2 separate regions of the Homo sapiens genome follow, and region 2 is linked to region 1. The links are contacts of gene promoters, found by promoter capture Hi-C in human tissues and cell types (Jung and others, 2019). All regions are on one chromosome and are shown on one strand. Each heading gives the region's core, a stretch centred on a gene start or on the middle of the fragment in contact. The rest is flanking DNA. Distances are from core to core; before and after follow the strand shown.

What was found. Contacts are between HindIII fragments. The study calls those that stand out against the background at their distance.
Region 2: a contact is called between a fragment that was not itself captured here and the fragment with the promoter of CASP14 in region 1, in 9 of the 25 tissues and cell types used here (aorta, bladder, dorsolateral prefrontal cortex and 6 more).

Annotation. Positions count from the first base shown.
Region 1 is chr19:15,046,207-15,051,943 of GRCh38, reverse strand. CASP14 (caspase 14) reads right to left here and starts at 2,464. Exons shown (of 7, transcript NM_012114.3): 1 at 2,299-2,464. The HindIII fragment of the contact is 29,360 bases long and covers 1-5,737 here.
Region 2 is chr19:14,922,339-14,928,075 of GRCh38, reverse strand. It overlaps the pseudogene OR7A15P. Among named protein-coding and RNA genes, the nearest start is that of OR7C2, 16 kb to the left of the region's middle. The HindIII fragment of the contact is 7,045 bases long and covers 1-5,737 here.

The DNA.
Region 1 (5,737 bases), core at 1,215-3,714:
CCCCCAAAAACTTCCTGTGTCTCCCGTGGGTCATTCACCAGCTTCTGGTGGACTGAACTTCCCCTGAAAGCCCTGGAATGAGGAGCAGGGCAAGTGACCCATGTGTTTGCCTCTTCTACCTAGGAGATGACGGGCTGGGGAAGCCATCTCAAAGAGATGCCTTGGAGGAGTGTTTAAAAGGAGAATGTCATCGAAGTGGGGAATGCAACTTTGATATTATCTCACTGGGTCTCCAATACGAAGGGGTCAATCCACCTCCCTTGCTCTTCCTTGAGTCTGAATGTCTGTCCACATTCTCCATTCTCATCTCTGAGTCCTGTTCTCTTCTCTGGCTGCACAGACAGACTTTTGTCATACTCTTGGCATTTCCCCATCTCTTTGCCTTTTCCTACACTTTCTCCTCAGTAGGGAATGCTTTTTGCTTTTTTTTTTTTTTTTTTTGAGACAGAATCTCACTCTGTCACCCAGGCTGTCTGGGGTGCAGTGGCATGATCTCGGCTCACTGCAACCTCTGCCTCCTGGGTTCAAGTGATGATCCTGCCTCAGCCTCCCGAGTAGCTGGGACTACAGGTATGCGCCACCATGCCTGGCTAATTTTATTGTATTTTTAGTAGAGACGGGATTTCACTGTGTTAGCCAGGATGGTCTTGATCTCCTGACCTCATGATCTGCCCACCTCAGCCTCCCAAAGTGCTGGGATTATAGATGTGAGCCACTGCACCCCACCGGGAATGCTTTTTTTTTTTCTATCTAGATCCTTCTCTGACAATTTTGGTGGCATAATATCTGCTATGCCTTCCCCCATCAACCATCCATTCATCTATGTTTTTATCCATCTATCTATCCAGTCACCCATCAATTCATTCATCTATCCATCTACCATCTATCCATTAATTCATCATCTATCCATCCATTCACCCACTCACCCTTCCATCTATTCATCTGTCCATCTACTTATCTATTAATCAGTCATCCCATCCACCCATCCTTCCACCCGCACATCTATCTAGTCATCCATCAATCCAATTTAACATCCATCCTTTTATTCATCAACCCATCCACCAATTTATCTTTCCACTTACCTATCTATCCACTCATCCATCCATCCATCCACCCACTCACACATCTATTCATCCGTCTGTCTACCCATCTATTAATCAGTCATCCCATATACCCATTCATTCTTCCATCAACCCATTTATCTACCCATCCATCTATCTATCCATCCACTTATTCATCCAACCACTCATTCATTCATCCATCCATCCATCCATTCATCCATTATCTCTCTCTGTCTTCCATCCCTCCATCTATTCTATCTTCCAACTATCCCTCCATCTAGCCCTCCTTCTATCCATTCCTTCATCCATCATCTCTATCTTCCATCTATCCATCCACCTATTTACTTATCCATCTACCCACCCACCCATCCATCCATCCATCCATCAATCCATCCACCCACCCACCCACCTACCCAGCAAATATTTTCTGGGTATCTATTATGTGTTATGCACTTAGAATCCATTAAGTAAGACAGACATGCTCCCTGACTTTCTGTCCTTCTGTAGCTCTAGTCTGTGACAGAAATGAATATTAAATCTCTCTCTCTCTCTCTCTCTCTCACACACACACACTCACACACACACACAGCAAGTGCTGTGACGAAAGAGGAGCCAAAGATTGTGAGGGAGGAAGTGGAAGGAGCATAGCCCTGGAGCCAGAACCGAATCCTGCCTCAGTCCCTTCCCAGCTGTGTGACCTTCGGCATCTCACTCTCCTCTCTGAGACTCGATTTTCCCATCCGCAAAGGACCTGGGGAGAGCTCTAGGTGCTTAACAGCAATGGTGACCCAGGTAGGTTTTAGGATCCCTCTTGACCTCCTGGAACTTTCCTCTTCCTTCTCTGGACTCTCACAGCTCTGCTTGCTCCTACTTGAATTACAGCAGTGTTTTTGATTCTTACTCTCATGGCTGAACTGGCAGCTCAGTTTTCAGGACTGAAAGCCTGACTTCATTATCTCTGTCTCCATCATGGCCAACAGTGTGGCAGGGAGCACAGAGGTGGTGTTGGAGAGAATTTGCTGAGTAAACAAATAAGAAAAAAATGAACAGATGAAAAGAAAGAGGGGATGGATGGAAATTTCTTCCATTCTGCCAAAACTGGCCAGAGCATTAATTCATGAAGGGAGAGGGAGCGTATGTGTGTATGTGCGTGTGTGTGTGTGTGTGTGTGTGTGTGTGTGTGTGAGAGAGAGAGAGAGAGAGAGAGAGAGAGGCTAATATCCACCAAATCACTTACCAACTCTAGAGGCAGCTGTTCCTCAAGGCCAAGTTCAATCTCACTACTCTCCTAGTTGCCAATACTGAGCTGGGCACCGAGGAGGAGTCAGGCCCACGTACTGATCTTGGAGAAGGGGCTGACAGTGTGGAATCTCCCGGGGTTTCTCCTGAGAAGCCTGGTCTATGAATCGGGTGGCACAATCACCTGGCCCTTTATTGTCGGTGAGTTTTCTGTCACTCAAGAAACCTCATGACACACCCTTGGCACACAGCTGTGGTGTGGAAATGGAGCCAACGCCAATGGGATGAGTGATCGCAAGGCTGAGGGGACTCCCTCTGGCAAAGGTGGCCTAGGCAGAGAGTCTAAATGAGTCAGATGTCTGTGCCAGCCCAGCCACAACCTCTCCCAACCCCCATCCCATAGCCAGCCCATCTGGTTATTACCATCATCATTATGCCTAGTTTATTCATCTCACCTTCCACTGTGTAGATAACACCGACTTCACTTAGTTATTATCTCATCGAGTCTTCAAGAGTCTAGACAGATCAGTATTTTTGCTCCCATTTTGCAGATGGAGAAACTGAGGCTCATAGAGGTGAAATGACTGCCCAAGGTCAGCAATTGGCACAGTTGGCATTCAACCCTATAAGGGGTGAGGTGTGGTGGGTCACGTCTGTAGTCCCAGCGCTTTGGGAGGCCAAGGCAGGAGGATCGCTTGAGGTGAGGAGTTTGAGACCAGCCGGGGCATAGTGAGACCCTGTCACTAAAATAATAATAATAATAAAAATGATGGCATATACCTATAGTCCTAGCTACTCAGGAGGCTGAGGTAGGAGGCTGGCTTGAGCCTAGGAGTTTGAGGCTGCAGCGAGCTAAGATTGTGCCTCTGCACTCCAGCCTGGGTGACAGAGCAAGACTCTGTCTTAAATATAAAAACAAACAAACAACCCCTAAAATGTTCCAGCCCAGTTGCCTTAACTGATGCATCATGATGATTCCTCTCTTCCTCCTCCTCTTATTATTTTTCAGCCATTTTGTTTCATTTTATTTCTTATGTTAATAGTGAAACCAAAGGCGAACCTGATTAAGCCCTCCAGACTTAATCTGCCTTGCGTTTAATTGCTTACTTACTTTTAATTGCTTACTTATAGTTGATCTTAAAAGCGCCACTAGCAAGTCACGTAGCCAAATAATGCATAACTAAACTCCCACTGGCTTCCTTACAGATAACATTTTTGTCTGTGGGACACTATAGTAATGGGTGCTTAAAGTTGTTTTTCAGGAACTAGGTAGGAGGCAGCTCTTGTTTAGTTTAAGCCAGTGGAGATCACTGACCCTTCAACTGCACCTATGTGGGTAGCTGATATCAGAGGGCCGTAAACTCCACCTTCAGATCATGCTAAATGCTATTTTTTGCACAAATGTCCTATCTAAAGCCATGTAGCTCAACCATGCTTGCTCAGAAATTCTGATTACCTCACCTTCCCTACCTGCCAGTCACCTTTCTCCGTACTTTAGATCACCCCGTTTTCTATCCCATAAGCACCCTCAAACCCTATTTTTGGGGAGGAGAATTTGAGACCTGTTTTACCACCTCGTCGCTTAATTGCCTCATGAACGAACTCTTCCTCTTCTGCAAAATCTGTCATTACATTGATTGGCTTGCTGCACAGAGGAAGAACAAACTCGGTTCGATAGCAACAGCTTAAATGAGATATAATTTACGTATTATACAATTCACCCACCTGAAGTGTGCAATCCAGTGGGTTTCAATATATTCACAGTGATGCAACCATTGCGTCAGTTCATTTTGGAACATTTTGTTTTTTCTTTTTTCGGAGATAAGATCTGTCACCCAGGCTGGAGTGCAGTGGAGCGATCACAGCTCACTGCAGCTTAAAACTCCTGGGCTTATTCGATCCTTCCACCTCAGCCTCCTGGGCAGCTGGGACTACAGGTGTGCACGTACATGCCTTGCTACTTTTTTCCTCAAGATTTTTTGTAGAGACAAAGTCTTGCTGTGTTGCCCAGGCTGGTCTCGAACTTCTGGCCTCAAGGGATCCTCCCCACTCGGCCTCCCAAAGTGTGAGATTACAGGCGCGGGCCACCACACCTGGCTCATTTTAGAACATTTTTATCACCCCCCAAAAGAATCCCAGTACCCTTTAGCTATCACTCCCAATCTCTCCATACATCCCAGCCTTAGGCAACCACTAGCCGAGTTTCTGTCTCTGCAGGTTTCCCTGTTCTGGATATTTCACAGAAATAGAATCATACACTATGTGATTTTTGTGTCTGGCTTCTTTCATTCAGCATGATGTTTTCAAGAACAGTATTGCAGGGATGTTGGTTTGTTGTCTCCTGTTTCATTTTGTTTTGGTTTTTAGAGAGCCAAGTGTTAGATGTCTTTCAGCAAACCATTGCAGACACTCCCATTCCAATTCCTTCCCCTAAGATCCAGCCTTCTTAGCTGACCAGATCCTATAAATCAATGAGATTTCAAGGAGGAGGAAGATAGCATCCACATGGTAGCATATATTAGAACTTCATCCCTTTTTCTGACTGAATAATAGTCCATTGTACAGATATACCTCATTTTGTTTATTTATTCATCTGTGGAGGAACATTTCAGTTGTGTTAGGCTTTTGGCTATTTGAAGGATGCTGTTATACATATTTATGTACAAGTTTTATGTGGATTTTTTTTTGAGACAGGGTCTCACTAAGTTGCCCAGGCTGGAGTGCAATGGTATGATCTCAACTCACTACAACCTCTGCTTCCCGGACTCAAGCAATTCTCCAGCCGCAGCCTCCCCAGTAGCTGGGACTACAGGCGTGCACCACCATGCCAGGCTAATTTTTTGTGTGTTTTTTGTAGAAACTGGGTTTTGCCATGTTGCCCAGCTGTTGTTAAACTCCTGAGCTGAAAACGATCCACCTGCCTGGGCCTCCCAAAGTGCTGGGATTACAGGCGTGAGCCACCACGCTTAGCCTGATGCATGTTTTAATTCCATTCCTAGTAGTGCAACTTTCTAGCAATACAGAAATGTTTTTTTTAGCAAAACTGGCCTGTTCTCATCCTTCCAATTCTTCCCTTTGCTTCCAGGTAGCCCAGGCACAAGACTGAGCAATTTCCCTTCAGTGCCTATTGCCGCATTGACTTACACACATTCGCAGTGTTAGTTACATAGGTGGGCCCGTTCTACAAAATTGTCCTGTTACTTGCCTTGTTCACCGAATTATGTCTGGGTCATCTTTCCATGTTAGCACATATGGAACAAACTCAATTTTTTTGTGTTCTTTAAACAACTATTGAGAATAACCTATGTGAAGAAAAGTGCGCGACTCTTTTTTTTTCTTTCTTTTTTTTTTTTTGAGACGGAGTCTCGCTCTGTCACCCAGGCTGGAGTGCAGTGGCGTGATCTTGGCTCACTGCAACCTCTGCCTTCCGGGTTCAT
Region 2 (5,737 bases), core at 1,044-3,543, 120 kb after region 1:
GATATAGCTTCAGCCCTAGGACAACTGGCCCTTTTCTAGTTTCCCTCCCAAAGAATTCTTCAGAGCCCTCTTTATGTCCTTATTCCTCAGGCTGTAGATGAAGGGGTTCAGCATGGGGGTGACCACAGTGTACCTCACTGAGGCTATTGCACCTGAGTGTGAGTTGTGGGATGCAGCCGAGCTAAGGTACACTCCTAGGCTTGTACAGTAAAACAAGGAGACAACTGAGAGGTGAGACGGACAGGTGGAAAATGCCTTATACTTCCCTTGAGCTGATGAGATTGCACATATGGAGGAAACTATCTTAGAGTAAGAGTAAAGGATCCCAGCGAGACATCCCCCCACCCAGCAGCACAGCTGCCAGATACATCACCATGTCATTAAGAAAGGTGTCAGAACAGGCAAGGTGGATGACCTGATTAAGTTCACAGAAAAAGTGGGGGATTTCCAACTCTCTGCATAAGGACAACTGCAGCACCATTAAGCTATGTAATAAGGAATGCAAGACACTTGTGATCCAGGATACCAGAACCAGCAATCCACAGAGTTGAGGGTTCATGATGACCGTGTAGTACAGGGGGTGACAGATGGCCACAAACCGGTCATAGGCCATCACAGTCAGGAGGAAGCTGTCCAATCCTACAAAATGTATGAAAAAGTACATCTGGGTGATGCAGCCTGCAGAGGTGATGACTTTGCTCTGTGCCTGGATATTCACCAGCATCTTTGGGACCCTGGTGGAGGCAAAACAGATGTCTACAAAGGACAGGTTGGAGAGAAAGAAGTACATGGAGGTGTGGAGGTGGGAGCATAAAATGATAACCAGGATGATAAGCAAGTTTCCAAATACAATGATGAGGTACATGGATAAGAACACTCCAAAGAGAAATCGTTATGCTCTGGTTTCTCTTCAAATTGTATAAATCTTTTGCCTTTTACCAAAGAGAAATCGTTGCAGTCTGGGTTCTTCTGAAAATCCCAGAAGTCGAAATTCTGAAATTCGTGTATCATTCTCTGGTTCCATGTGGTAGAGGTGACTATAAAAAAAAAAAAAAGAGAGAGAGAGAAAATACATGACATAAGCATGCTTTTTTCACCCATCAGAAAAGCTATTATTTATATCCTACAGTCAGCAAGTTAATTTCTATATTTTGTGTGTGAATCTGGTCTACTTTATGAGATCTCCCATCCCATCTCTGCTTAGGAATTCCTTTCCCATGATGCTCAACTTTTCCCCAAATGGTCATTTATTTAAAAACTTTGCCGGGTGCGGTGGCTCACACCTGTAATCCCAGCACTTTGGGAGGCAGAGGTGGGCGGGTCACCTGAGGTCGGGAGTTCAAGACCAGCCTGACCAACATGGAGAAAACCCATCTCTACTAAAAATACAAAGTTAGCCGGATGTGGTGGTGCGTGCCCGTAATCCCAGCTACTCGGGAGGTTGAGGCAGGAGAATCATTTGAACCTGAGAGGCAGAGGTTGCAGGGAGCCAAGATGGCGCCATTGCACTCCATCCAGCCTGGGCTACAAGAGCAAAACTCCATCTCAAACAAAACAAAACAAAACAAAACAAAAACCAATACTTTAATGATAAATTCTTTCATGGATTTGAGGAATTTAAATTGAGTGTTGTCAACGTTCCAGGCTCTGTCTAGACAATGAGTGAACAGTGCTGAAAAACAAAAGTTCCTACAGTGAAGTATGGAGAAGAATACAAGTAAATCATATACTGTGTCAGATGGTAACCAGGGCTAGCAAGAAAAAGAAAGAAGGTAAAAAGGCGAGGGTGGATAGAGGATGTTAATTTTCCTAGGTGTCCAGAGAATACTAGCAGTCAAGGTGATAGGTGCCCATCAATAGTGGATTGGACAAAGAAACTGTGGTACTTATACACCATGGAATACTAGGCAGCCATAAAAAAGAATGAAATCATGTCCTTTCCAGCTACATGGATGAAGCTAGAGGCCGTTATTCTGAGCGACCTAATGCAAGAACAGAAAACCAAATATCGCATGTTCTCACTTATAAATGGTAGCTAAACATCGAATATACGTGAACACAAAGATGGGAACAATTGACACTGGAGACCGCTGGACAGAGGATGGAGGGAGGGGGATGTGAGCTGAAGAACCATCTGTTGGGTCCTATGCTTACCTCCTGAGTGATGGGATTGTTAGGACCCGAAGCCTCAGCATCACACAATTTACCCGTGTAACAAACCTGCACATGTACCCTTTAATCTGTAAGAAAAGCTGAAATTTTTAAAAAGAGAAATGAGACCTCAAGGAAGACAGGGCGGGAGCCATGAGGATATCTGGGAATGTGTGTGCCCAGCAGAAAGAATGGCCGGTGCAAAGGTGTAGAGGAAGGTTTCAGATGTTCAAGGCCAACGAGGAAGCCAGTGTGGCAGGGAAATCTGTGAGAGGTAAGTGATGGGAGATGGTGTCAGAAGATGTTGCACTATGAGGTGACTTCATTGCTGCTGAAGCTTCAAAATACAAGAAGTCCCTCTGCCCAGATTTTGTTTGGTTTGGTTTGGTTTTGAGACAGAGTCTCACTCTGTCGGCCAGGCTGGAGTGCAGTGGCATGATGTGGGTTCACTGCAACCTCCACCTCCTGGGTTCAAGAGATTCTCCTGCCTCAGCCTCCCAAGTAGCTGAGACTACAGGTGCCTGCTACCATGCCCTGCTAAGATTTATATTTTTTGGTAGAGATGGGGCTTCACCATGTTGGCCAGGCTGGTCTCAAACTCCTGACCTCAAGTGATCCTTTTGTCTCGGCCTCCCAAAGTGCTGGGATTACAGGCGTGAGCCACCACGCCCAGGCTTGTCCTGATGTTTTCTATTTGCACTTTAATAAATTGGCTCCATGTCCCATGAATTGAAATGCATCCTTTGTTTATTTCCATATGCTGCCTTGCGTGCTGACCTCTGTATTCTGAGTCACCTTTTGGAATATATTGAGTCCAGGTCCCTTTACTTTTTTTTTTTTTTTTTTTTTTTTTGAGACGGAGTCTCGCTCTGTTGCCCAGGCTGGAGTTCAGTGGCGCGATCTCGGCTCACTGCAACTTCCGCCTCCCAGGTTCACACCATTCTCCTGACTCAGCCTCCCAAGTAGCTGGGACTACAGGCGCCCGCCACCACGCCCGGCTAATTTTTTTGCATTTTTAGTAGAGGCAGGGTTTCACCATGTTAGCCGGGATGGTCTCGATCTCCTGACCTCGTGATCTGCCTGCCTCGGCCTCCCAAAGTACTGGGACTACAGGCGTGAGCCACTGCGTCCCTCTACTCTTAAAAGGGATATCTCTACCTCATTTGTATGTCATATTCTTTTATGCCTAGGTCTTTGCAACTTTAATTATTTATCCATGTTGAAAACATTAAATTATTGCTACTTCATATCTTGTTTCAGTTAATTAGCAAGGCTCCTTTCAATTCTGTTTAATGATGTTATTTTGAAATCACTCTCCCCACTAAAGACAGACACACATATGCACAATTAGTACAGACACACACACAGGCACACACTTGAAGCTGAATGAGGACTCCTGGGACTGTGTTTATAGCAAGCTGTTCTCACCTCCAGTCACACCATTAATATTAGAGAGGAATGGAAATGAAGCAAGCTTTCAATATCAGATTATCTTTCCATTTTTTTGTATGGTCATGTTCTGTCTTCTGTTTAAAAAAACATAAAAAATTATAAAAATACAACAATTTTGCTTGATAAACATACAGAGGATAATTAAATAAAACCCAAGGGGGGAAAATCTAATAACCTCAGATAATTCCTGGGAGACTAGGAAGAAGAAATAGCTTGCTTGAATGAATTAATGGCATTCGCAGTGACCTGGATGAGATTGGAGACAATTATTCTTTTTTTTTTTTTTGAGACAAAGTCTCCCTCTTTTCCCCCAGGCTGGAGTGCAATGGCATGATCTCAGCTCACTGCAACCTCCACCTCCCACGTTCAAGTGATTCTCATGTCTTAGCCTCCTGAGTAGCTGGGATTACAGGCACCTGCCACCACGCCCGGCTAATTTTTATAGTTTTAGTAGAGATGGGGTTTCACCCTGTTGACCAGGCTGGTCTCGAACTCCTGACCGAAGGTGATCTGCCCGCCTCAGCCTCCCAAAGTGCTGGGATTACAGGCATGCGCCACTGCGCCCAGCTGGAGACAATTATTCTAAGTGAAGTAACTCAGGAATGGAAAACCAAACATTGTATGTTCTCACTCATAAGTAGGAGCTAAGTTATGAGGATGCAAAGGCATAAGAATGACTCAATGGACTTTGGGGACTCAGGAGGAAAGGGTGGGAAGGGGGTGAGGGATAAAAGACTACAAATTATGTGCAGTGTATACTGCTTGGGTGATGGGTGCACCAAAATCTCACAAATCACCACTAAAGAACTTACTCATAAAAAAAAAGAACTTACTCATGTAACCAAACACCACCTGTTCCCCAGTAACCCATGGAAATAAAAAAAAAAAAAAAATTAAGAAAAAGAAAAAAGAGAAAAGTTTCCTTGGTTACAGCCATACTCCAGCTCCCAATATGTCTCCTTGATACTCAGCCAAAATAATAGAATATAAAAAACAAATCTGTCCAAAAGATAGAAGTCATGAAATCTTTTTGGGGTCAAGACACTTAGAGATTGAACATACCCATGGAAAGAATGGGCAAAGGAAATAAACCAACAGCTCAACCAAGAACAACCAAATTTGGGCATTTTTAATATATGAAACAGTAAAAAACTTGTTTTTCCTGTAGCCTATTTCATATTGATTTGGAAAATTGGTTTTTATATGGTCCGACAGAAGATGAAGAGGTGGGCACCTTTTCTCAGAGTTTCACTCTTGTTGCCCAGGCTGGAGTGCAATGGCGCCGTCTCGGCTCACTGCAACCTCCATCTCCCGGGTTCAAGTGATTCTCCTGCCTCAGCCTCCTGAGTAGCCGGGATTACAGGCGCCTGCCAGCACGCTCAGCTAATTTTGTATTTTTAGCAGAGATGGAGTTTCGCCACGTTGGTCAGGCTGGTTTCAAACTCTTGACCTCAAGTGATCCACCCGCCTCGACCTCCCAAAGTGCTGGGATTATAGGCATGAGCCACTGCGCCGGCCGGCAATCTATTCTTTGCTATTTTTTTGGGGGTTTTGGATTTTGATCTCTTTATTTACAATCCCACGGGCACGCTCTAGTTCTGGTTCTGGTCTTTTTGCAACATGCAAAGGCTTCGCTGATATTATTACGTAAAATTCTGTGCACACTGTGACAAGTCCTTTTACACTGAAATGCCTTCTTCATGCAATTAATCCCTGAGGACATCGTGTCATACACACATTTATTTCATTGTATTCTGTCTTCACCATTCTCATGCCAAATATAAATGAGTGGGGACTTAACTTGCTTTGTTCACTTTTGTGTTTTCACAAATGTATGTGAATACATGTGCATCGTATAGAAACACGTTTTAAGAAAATGAGAAGTAATGAGATGAAAAGAATGGCAAGAGAATAAAATCAGTTTAAATATAGTGGTTTCAAAATAACAATATATTAAATAAAATCAAAAGAAGCATCAGTAATGAACCGAAACGAGACACGAAATAGCAGTAATTTAATGATTTCAATGTGGATAAATATAGTCGCAAAGACCTACGCATAAGAGAATATAACATACAACTGAGGTAGAAATATTCCTTTTAAGAATAAAGGGATCTAGACTCAATATATTCCA